Linked DNA regions of Homo sapiens: region 1 is linked to region 2. Evidence: promoter capture Hi-C in human tissues and cell types (Jung and others, 2019). All regions are on one chromosome and are shown on one strand. The core of a region is centred on a gene start or on the middle of the fragment in contact, and the rest is flanking DNA. Distances in the headings are between cores, read along the strand shown.

Region 1 (4,904 bases), core at 2,356-4,855, 940 kb before region 2:
GAGTATGAAAGAGTAAAGCCAGGAGACTCAAAAGTAAAGAAAAAAAAAACTTAGAGGAGAGAGAAAGACTGACAGAACAGACAGAGTCAAAGAGAGAGAGACAGGCAAAAAGGGAAAGAGAGAGGCAGAGAGAAAGGCAAAGGGAGAGAGTCAAAGAGGAAGAGAGAGGCAGAGAGAGAGGCAAAGAGAAAGAGTGAGAGAGAAAAAGAGGCAGAGAGGGAGAGGCAAAGGGAGAGAAAGAGGACAAAATAAATGTTTCAGATTAAAAATAGGTCACTTCAAAAGAAAATGTCCCAAATGGGAAAAAGAACAAAAGTCATATATAAAAGCAAATCAGCTAATATTAAATTTCTGTTTATTCCAGAGGCAGGAACAAACCTATTAGAGAGATTTAATGCTAAAATTTGGCTTAGGCCTCTATATTAATCAGGGAAGATTCCTCCCCTCCCTAAACTTGCTCCCCACCACAGACAAAGAACTCATTCATCCCAAGGTATGGTCAAAAGACGAGAATCGAGGAAAGTTACAGATTACTCAGTTTCATGTTAAATTACAAACCCCTGGGGAAGTAGTAAAGAGAAAGCAATGTATCCTATTCCTTTCAAAGCCGAGGTAAATTTAAAACCTATAATTGATAATTGAAGGTCTTCTCCGTGATGGATTTCTTAAACCCTGTATGTCTCCCTATAACATTCCAATACTGCCTGTAAAGACGCCAGACAGGTCATACCGGTTAGTGCAAGACCTTAGAGCTATTTTTTTTTTTTTTTTTTTTGAGACAGAGTCTTGCTCTTTCGCCCAGGCCAGAGTGCAGTGGCACTATCTCGGCTCACTGCAAGCTCCGCCTCCCGGGTTCACGCCATTCTCCTGCCCAGCCTCCCGAGTAGCTGGGGCTACAGGCGTGTACCACCACGCTTGGCTAATTTTTGTATTTTTAGTAGAGATGGGGTTTCACCATGTTGGCCAGGCTGGTCTCGAACTCCTGACCTCAAGTGAACTGCCCGCCTTGGCCTCCCAAAGTGCTGGGATTACAGGTGTGAGCCACCACGCCTGGCACCATGTTTGTTTTTTTAAAAAGCAGATCACCACCCACTAAATTAATTTTGCAAACCCACTGACGTCCATATCCTGCAGTTTGAAAAACACTGCAATAAATATTGGTAGGAGGTAGAAGTTTTACCCTTAGCCCAGGCTGCCAGTCCTGGCTTCCTTCCCTTTGCCTCTCAGCTGTGCCCTGAGCCTGCTTGTGACTAAGCCAGACCCAGGCCAGCTCAGCTCTAGCTGGACAGAGGAGCCACCATGTAGCTGAGAGCCCTTTTGTAGCGCGCCGAGAGCTCAGCCTTCTCTGTGTCTCTCAGGCTTTCCCTGCAGGAGTCATCAGGCAGCAATGATGTGGATTCTGTCTCTACTGCAACCCTCAGCCCAGCTATGAGAAAGGCATTCTTCCCATTGCTCAGATGAGAAGCCTGAGGCCGATCAGGGTGAAGTGACTATGGCATAAGGACAAACAGGACTGGTCCGCCTGTGAAATTCAGAATGTGAATTAGGCAGGAAAATTGGCTCTCTAGAAAATACTGTGGAAGTGCTGAATAGGATTGATAGGTGGCTGTGGAAAAGAAAGTGCTAGAGACACAGAAAACCGATACAAAAATGGGCAGGGCGGCCAGGCGCGGTGGCTCACGCCTGTTATCCCAGCACTTTGGGAAGCCGAGGCGAGCGATAACTTAAGGTCAGGAGTTCGAGACCAGCCTGGCCAACATGGTGAAATATAAAATTTCTGTACCAAAAATATAAAAAATTAGCCAGGTGTGGTGGTGCTCGCCTGTAATCCCAAGTACTTGGGGGGCTGAGGCAGGAGAATCCCTTGAACCCTGGAGGTGGAGGTTGCGGTGAGCCAAGATCATGCCACTGCACTCCAGCCTAGCTACAGAGCAAGACTCCGTCTCAAAAAAAAAAAAAAAAAGGCTGGGTGCAGTGGCTCACGCCTGTAATTCCAGCACTTTGGGAGGCCCAGGTGGGCAGATCATGAGGTCAATAGATCGAGACCATCCTAGCCAACATGGTGAAACTCCGTCTCTACTAAAAATATAAAAATTAGCTAGGCGTGGTGAGGCACGCCTGTAGTCCCAGCTACTGGGGAGGCAGAGGGAGAAGAATCCCTTGAACCCAGGAGGCAGAGGTTGCAGTGAGCCGAGATCGCGCCACTGCACTCCAGCCTGGGCAACAAGAGCGAGACTCTGTCTCAAAAAAAAAAAAAAAAAAAAAAAAAACTTTGATCAACAATTTGGAAACTGCCTGTTCTTTTAAAAACGCTCTTTCAGCTGCTGCTAATCCGAGTGTATATTCAGGACAACTTGAATCTCTGCTCCGAGTTGCAGTCTTCGAACTTGACCCAAAAAAACTCCCTGCTTAAATTAGGCTCGCCTCAGTTTTCATTTGTTTTCCTTTAGGCGGACACAGACGAGGGCCACTTAAAGGATGGCCCCTAAACTCCCGGTTGAGTTCTTTTACATATAAAGGGCATCATGCCTTTGAGGAGCTTAGCTTTACATATTAAATGGAGAAACAGAACCTGTCAACATCTGTAGGAAGTGGACAGCGCCAGTTATAAACAGGAGGCCAGGCAAGGTGGCTCACGCCTGTAATCCCAGCACTTTGGGAGGCTGAAGCGGGCGGATCACTTGAGCTCAGGAGTTCCAGACCAGCCTGGCCAACATGGCGAAACTCCGTCTCTACTAAAAATACAAAAATCAGCCCGGCGTGGTGGCGCGCGCCTGTAATCCCAGCTACCTGGGAGGCTGAGGCAGGAAAATCACTTGAACCCGGGATTTGGATGTTGCAGTGAGCGGAGATCACGCCACTGCACTGTAGCCTGGGAGACAGAGCGAGACTCTGTCATTAATAAATAAATATATGTAAATAAAATAAAGCAACAAGAGTTTGCAAAATCCAAAACCACGGGGACTTCTCAACTGCCTTTTCTCCCTTAAGTACCCTCCATTGCTACCCCTGCTCCATCACCTCCTCTTCCGGTCCCTCCTCTAGGGCCCGCCCACCCCTTCCGTTTCCGCCCCGCCCCGCCCCCGCCTTCGCCCAGACCAGGGCCCGCCCGCCTCTTCCAATCCGTTCCCCGACGGCCTGCCCATTGCTTCCGGTCCGTAGCTGAGGCCCCGCCCCTTCAACTGTGCCTCAGCCCGCCATTCCCATTGGCGGAAAATCCCAGACGCCCCTCAAATTGGAGAGGGACAGATGGGCGCTGTGGCTCACGCCCGTAATCACAACCCTCTGAGAAGCCGAGGCGGGCGGATCACGAGGTCAAAAGATCGAGACCGTCCTGGCCAACGTGGTGAAACCCCGTCTCTACTAAAAATAAAAAAATTAGCTGGGCGTGGTGGCGCGCGCCTCTAGTCGGGAGGCTGAGGCAGGAGAATCGCTTGAACCCGGAAGGCGGAGGTTGCAGTGAGCCGAGATCGCGCCACTGCACCCCAGCCTGGCAACAGAGCGAGACTCTGGCTCAAAAAAAAAAAAAAAAAAAAAAAAAATTGGAGAGGGACGCTCTTCCGCCTGCCTGTACCCGGAAGTGACGTTATGTACGTCCCCCCCCGAGGAAGTGACGACAGGCGTGCCCTTGACAGGCAGGGAGGGCTAGGCTGTGCATCCCTCCGCTCGCATTGCAGGGAGGTAGGAGCCCTGTGGGGGTGGCTCGAGGTGGTGTCGCGGCTGAGGCATGCCGCGAGCGCGTTCCTGCGCAGGCTGGCGGCCGGGCGGGCGGGGGGATCTAGCTCGCCGGAGAGCCAGGGTCCCTGGTGATGTCCGATTTTTCCCAGTTCCCTCCACACATGTCCCTTCTTTATTGGTTCCCTCCAGTACATGTCTCTTCGTTTTTGGTTCCTCTCACACTCTTAGTTCCTCCTTGAATTGTTGCGTTTCATCTTTTCAGACGACCCTGGGTTCCAGTGTTGGCTGTCATTTAATAGCGGGGTTACTTTGGGCATGTCACTTAACTTACTTGAGCCTCGTATTCCTTCCCTTACTCGCAGTGTGGGCAGTACAATAGCAACTTCCTGGAAGTTGCTGTAGGAAGACCAATAATGTGTGTAAGGTACTTGGTCCTTACATACATTATTAAATCTGTTGGTTTCTTCCTCCCATTCTTCCGTTATAATCTAAATCCCGATTTCTTTTTGGTTGTGAAGCCAGTTTTCCTGTCCTTCTGGTTTGCCTAGCTGTTCCTTCCCTTTGATTCTCATTGCTTCCTCACTTCCACGCTACAAATCTTACATATGATTTCCTTGCATTTTGCTTCCAACTCTGCCTCTTCCTGAGCCCTGAGTACTCCCCAAATCTTTTTCTAGTGTGTCGACTTCCTTTTGTGTGCCCCAGTTCTTCTGCCTCTTTCCCTCACAGATGGCTCAGCGACTTCTTCTGAGGAGGTTCCTGGCCTCTGTCATCTCCAGGAAGCCCTCTCAGGGTCAGTGGCCACCCCTCACTTCCAGAGCCCTGCAGACCCCACAATGCAGTCCTGGTGGCCTGACTGTAACACCCAACCCAGCCCGGACAATATACACCACGAGGATCTCCTTGACAACCTTTAATATCCAGGATGGACCTGACTTTCAAGACCGAGTGGTCAACAGTGAGACACCAGTGGTTGTGGATTTCCACGCACAGTGAGTATTGGGGGTCCACAGAAGACTAGGGTCCTACTTGTTCAAGTATTTATTGAATGCCTGCTGTGTCCCACGGCCATGTTCTATGCTGCTCATATGTAGACTCAATATACAGACTGGTCAGGCCCAGTCCCTGCCCTCAAGGGGAATGCAGTCTGGTGGAAGACAGACAAGTGAACAGTCTGCAAAGCTGACTGTTAGTGCTGGGAAACACATGTTCTGTTTCTCAATCCC
Region 2 (5,095 bases), core at 650-3,149:
GGACGTGTCCTCCCGGTGTATGCCCCAGAGCCTGTTTCACTGCACTGCCCCTCCTCCACACCCCCATGCCTCCTCCATCAGTGCACACTCAGCCTCTTTGGACACGCACATTGCCATCACTGGCTTCCAGCTGCCACTCTGAGAGTCCGGGAGCTTGGCAAAGCCAACCCCACCACCCTTGGCAGCTCAGGTGGTAGAAGGTAGGCAGGCATCCACTTCTGGCAGGCCAACTCTGCCTCTCACCAGCCCGGCAGCCCTGGGCAAATGACTTGGCTTCCTGGGGCTCAGGTTATTCCTCTGTTAATGGTAAGACATAAACCCCCTGTGTGGCCCTGGGTTTCCAATAAGTCTGGAGGCTGACCCAGCTCTTGACCCGCAGCAAACCTGAACACATGCTGGGTTCTTTTCTTCGTGGCACTTTATCTTGGCAGTCGTGGGGCTGCCTAGAGCAGCCTGGTGAGGCTGGACTGGAATGCAGGCGCAGGTCTTGCAGGGACCCCATCTTGTCTCTGACACCACAGGAGGCTTGATTCACTGGCTCCTGACCTGGCTGCTCCCTCCCAGCCTGGCTTCCCACCTTCCATGAGGTCTTGGACAACATCCCCTGTCATCCTCCTGGTGCTGGGGACAAGGGGAGGGGAGGGCACAGAGAGGCCTCCAGAGCTGCCTTCCGGGCCCTCCAAGACAGCTAAGTTACAGGAAACCCCTCCTGGGAAGGGAATCATCCAGGAAACTCACTCTGCACCAACCCAGAAAAAGCTCAAGAACTCTGGATAACGAAGGAGCTTCTTAATCTTCCTTCCCCACCTCCAGGTAATGCAGGCTGCAGCCAGCTCCAGAAGAGGGACAGGAGTGTTTGTGGTAGTTGACTCGTCTTCCCTGAGCCCCCGTTTCCTCCTATTTAAATGGGCTATTACTCTAGCTCTTTAAATGCAAAGCCTGTGGCACCAAAACTAGCACATAGTAGAAGCTCAATAAATCTTTCTTTCCTGGGATTAAGTCAAGGGTATAGCACTCAGTTTGACACATACAGTAGGTGCTCAACGAATTTAATTCTCTCTAGGTATGCAAAGTTGCCAGACGATCCCGGCACATAGTAGGTGCTCAATCAATTTCACTTTCTCTGGTCATCTAAGGAATCACTGAGCTTTCCTCCTCCAAGCCTCTACCCTTTCTTCCCGGCTGCTCCACTTCCCCCAGATGCCCAGCTCTGTTGGGGCGTCTCCTACCTGGGAATGGCGGGCCGGGCCTCTGGCACGGCTCAGAGAGCTGCCTGGAAGCGCCGGGAGCTGCGGGGAGCTGCCTGCTGCTCCAGCCGCCGAGCCTCCCAGAGTCTGTGGTGGCTCCCGGGTCACTGCGCGGGGATCCTCCCCTGCGCTGCTCGGGACGCCGGGCTGGGCGCGGCCGGGCAAGGAGGCGCAAGGGGCAGGTGCCCCATGGGTGGGCTCCGAGGGCTCGGCGGGGCCCGGGCAGGGGGCGGGCTCCGGCTCGCCGCCGCCGGCCCTGCCCTGCCCCGAGCCGGGGGCCTCCTGCTGAGCCAGGTGCCCGGAGGCTTGGGGACGTCCGATCCGGGGGTCCCCGCCTGGGGCTCTCGGGCTGGGGGCAGAGAGGTAGGGGCGACTCCAGTGATGAAGGAGCAGCTCCTAGAGACTTGGGGAGGGGGGGTCCTTTGGAGGTGACTGTGGGTGCGTGTCCCAGGTGGGCGAACCCTCCTGGTCGCCTATGCCACCTTCTCCGCCTGCCCCAAAGGGGGTCGCTCGGATGGGGGGTATCGGGCTGCCGGGCTCGGCCGCGGCCTCCTTCTCTGCCCGCGGCTCTGCAGCTCTCCCAGCGCCGGAGGGACGGCTTCTTTCTCCCCGCGCGGCGACGCCAGCAGCTGAAGGAGGAGCAGGGCGCTCTGCTCTGCGCGCGTGTGGGAGGGGGCCTTGAACGCCGCCCCAAGGTTTCGCAGCTCCAAGTTAGCATCAACCCGGCTCCTCCTCCTTCACCTCCTCCTGTCCCCAGATGAGGAGAACTTTGTGTGTGGCCCTGGGTTCTCCCTCCTTCCCCCTCTCGCAGGCAGATGCCCCACTGTCACCCGCAGGGCGAAGAGGTCGCTGATCCCTCCGAAAGGTGGCAGAACCCCAGGCTCCTGATGACGGTCCCAGCGGCACCCTCCCGCGCCCCTGCGAGCGTCGCCCACCTGCTCCTTCGGCCCCCCGCGAGCCGCGCCTCCCGCCGCCCAGCGCCAGCGTCTGCCCCCCAGAGCCCGCTCGCCCCGCCCCACCCCGGCGCCCCGCCTCGCCCCGGCGCCCGGCCAATGGGAGGCGGGTCCCGCGGCCCGGCCCCGCCCATCCCTTTCGCGGCCTCCGGGGCGCCGCGGTCTGCGGTTCCGCGTGTCCGGGCGCGTGGGGCCGGGGCCGCTGGGCGCGCGCACCTTGCCCAGAAGGCGGCCCGGGCCTCGGAGGCTGACGTCTGCGCACGCGCTCACACGCACGCCCGGCCTGGCCGCAGGTGACCCGCATGGGGTCCGGCCGCCTGCCCACTCGGCCGGGGTCTCCAGCGGCTTGCGCCCGGCCAGGTCGAGCGCGCCACGGTTCCAGCGCCCTCCTCCTTCGCGGAAGTCCCCGGGTGCCCTCCCAGGTGTCCAACCTGCCTGTCCCAGCCGCCGCCTCCCTCCCGAGCTCACGGTGCCCACGGGACCCTGCGGACTGGCACATGGGCCATGCACGTGTCGCCCAGAGGGGCGGGGAGTCACCTAGGCTTAGTAGCCAGAGGTCTTCGAGGCATGCGAGTCTCAGAGACCACGGCCGACGGGGACACACCAGGTGCCTTGAGCATTGCGTCTCCTGCCTGCATTCTCCCTCCCCACCTTTAAATGAGGGGCTTGACCTAGGCCAGACATCGGGCCTTCTCACTGGGCCATATCTCCACACCACTTATTACTTAATATATTTTTTAAAATATCAGATCCACTTTCCCCACCCCTTAAACACGTTTTTTTAGAGAATCATTATATCACTGCCTTAAATGGGAAATCAGTATCACTTGCCATAAATAGAAAGTAAGAGTTAAAATAAGCACAGTGAAAACAAAGCAAGGTTATTAAATTCCAGCTGGAAACCGTGGCCTGCCAAGGCTTGAGATGTGTGCCCTCAGTGAAAAAGGGAGATTGGCAAGGTTTGGAGAGGTGTTAAATACCCATTAGCACCTAACAGAGACTTTCTCCTTCACATATCAGGAGGCTTAAAAGAGAATGTTCTCGTTGTGTGATACAGCAAAGGGATGGGATGCTGTGTCTGTGTCCCTCAGTTCCAGATCCCTGGACCTCAGGGATGTCTGCCAGCCTCACCCCCAACCCAGATCTGGCCTCCCTACCTCATGAGAGGACGCAGGGGTCTGGGAGGGCACCTGAGGGGTCAGCTCCATTGGCTGAGAGACTGGCGTTCAAGTCCTGTCTCCGTAACTACCTAGATATCTGACCCTGGGCCGTCATGAAAAGTCTCTGGGTCCTGGTTGTGCCATCTCTAAAATGGGTATGATATTGATGGGTCCACAGAATGACAGAAGTACTAAAATGGCCTGGGACTTTGAATATGGAAAGTGACTTGCTTTGCTTGTCTCTGTAACATCTTGAGATTCTCCAGGAAAGTTAACCAGAGAGGATGGGGCAGGTGGGGGTGGAGGGTGCAGTACCTGTACTACCTGATTGTGTTTAATGCCCCAATTTAGGCCACAGAGGGGCTAAGGGGATGTGCCCAAAGTCACCTGGTGGCAAGTGGCAGGATTGCAGCCTGGTGCATTTTCCACATCCAGACTTTGCCTCTGGGAACTGGCTTCAGCCCGGGAGGGTTTGTGCTGGGCATGACACACACAGGCTGTGAGCCTTGAGCTGGCAGTGAACTTGGCAGTGGGAGGTGAGCAGGGTGGCACGCTTCACCTGGAAGGCTGGGGTCAGGAAGACTCAGGTCGCTGGGCCAGCTCTGCCACCTCCATCACGGAAATGTAGCAGACGGCCCAAGAACCAATTGCTCCCTGCTTCTGCAGAGTTGTTCAACAGAATGGGTCATGTCCCACTGACCATATCCCAGTCGCGAGGGGAGCTGCATGTGGAGTGAGAACCCTGGGAGGTCCACTTGCCCCAGCCTCTGTCTTCTGCTCCTGCCCTCCCCCACTCCTGGTATGGTAGGGCTCAGTCAATAAGCAAATACACATAAGGGATCAACTGATGCCCAAGGAAGCTTTGTGTAGCAACAGCACACTTCTCACATGTGCCTATTTTCCCCTTCCCCCCTCCCCACCCACTTGCTTTATCATCCCTCATCAGACCCTTTGTCATAGCTGCCCCCTTCGTCCCTGGGCTCCCTGTCACCCTCTCTCTCCCATATAACCTGTGACCATTTTAGCCCTGTTCTAAAACTGCCACCTCCTGCTCAAGAGTTTTCAAGGGCTCCCCATTGCTTAAGATATAAAATCTTGGGCTGGGTGTGGTGGCTCACGCCTATAATCCCAGCACTTTGGGAGGCCAAGATGGGAGGATCACTTGAGGCCAATAGTTTGAGACCAGCCTGGCCAACATAGCAAAACCCTACTACTAAAAATATAAAATATAATAATTTTATACTAAAAATATAAAAACTACCCAGGCGTGGTGGTGTGCGCCTATAATTCCAGCTACTCGGGAGGCTGGGACATGAGAATTGCTTGTATCCAGGAGGCAGAGGTTGCAGTGAGCCGAGATCGTGTCACTGTGCTCTAGCCTGGGCGACGGAGCAAGACTCTGTCTCAAAAAAAAAAAAAAGATATAAAGTCTAAAAATCTAAATTCCTTATCCTAGCGAACAAGGCCTCCAACCAGGACGTGATTCCCACCATGCCCTGCACTCAACCTCCATTCCAGCAAAATCAAATCACTTCCGGGTCTCTAAAGAAGAGAAGCTATCCCTCCTCTGAGCTTGTGTATGCTGGTTTCTTATCAGGGATACCCTTTTCTCTGTATTTACCCATCAAACTCCTACACATTCTTCAAAGCACTGTGTCCACACTTCTCCCCACAAAACTTACTCCCAGCCTTTCTAATGGTGTGAATCTCCTCCTCTGGGCTCCCACAGCACCAA

Evidence for each region. Contacts are between HindIII fragments. The study calls those that stand out against the background at their distance.
Region 1: the fragment with the promoter of TXN2 here is called in contact with the fragment with the promoter of RASD2 in region 2 in 3 of the 25 tissues and cell types used here (aorta, dorsolateral prefrontal cortex and stomach).

Annotation. Positions count from the first base shown.
Region 1 is chr22:36,480,341-36,485,244 of GRCh38, reverse strand. It overlaps TXN2 (thioredoxin 2), which reads left to right and starts at 3,605. Exons shown (of 4, transcript NM_012473.4): 1 at 3,605-3,681; 2 at 4,408-4,670. The coding sequence starts at 4,408. RefSeq lists an enhancer at 2,229-3,175. The HindIII fragment of the contact is 22,621 bases long and covers 1-4,904 here.
Region 2 is chr22:35,537,635-35,542,729 of GRCh38, reverse strand. RASD2 (RASD family member 2) reads right to left here and starts at 1,899. Exons shown (of 3, transcript NM_014310.4): 1 at 1,230-1,899. RefSeq lists enhancers at 1,549-2,111, 2,112-2,674, 2,675-3,237 and a silencer at 2,208-2,427. The HindIII fragment of the contact is 17,894 bases long and covers 1-5,085 here.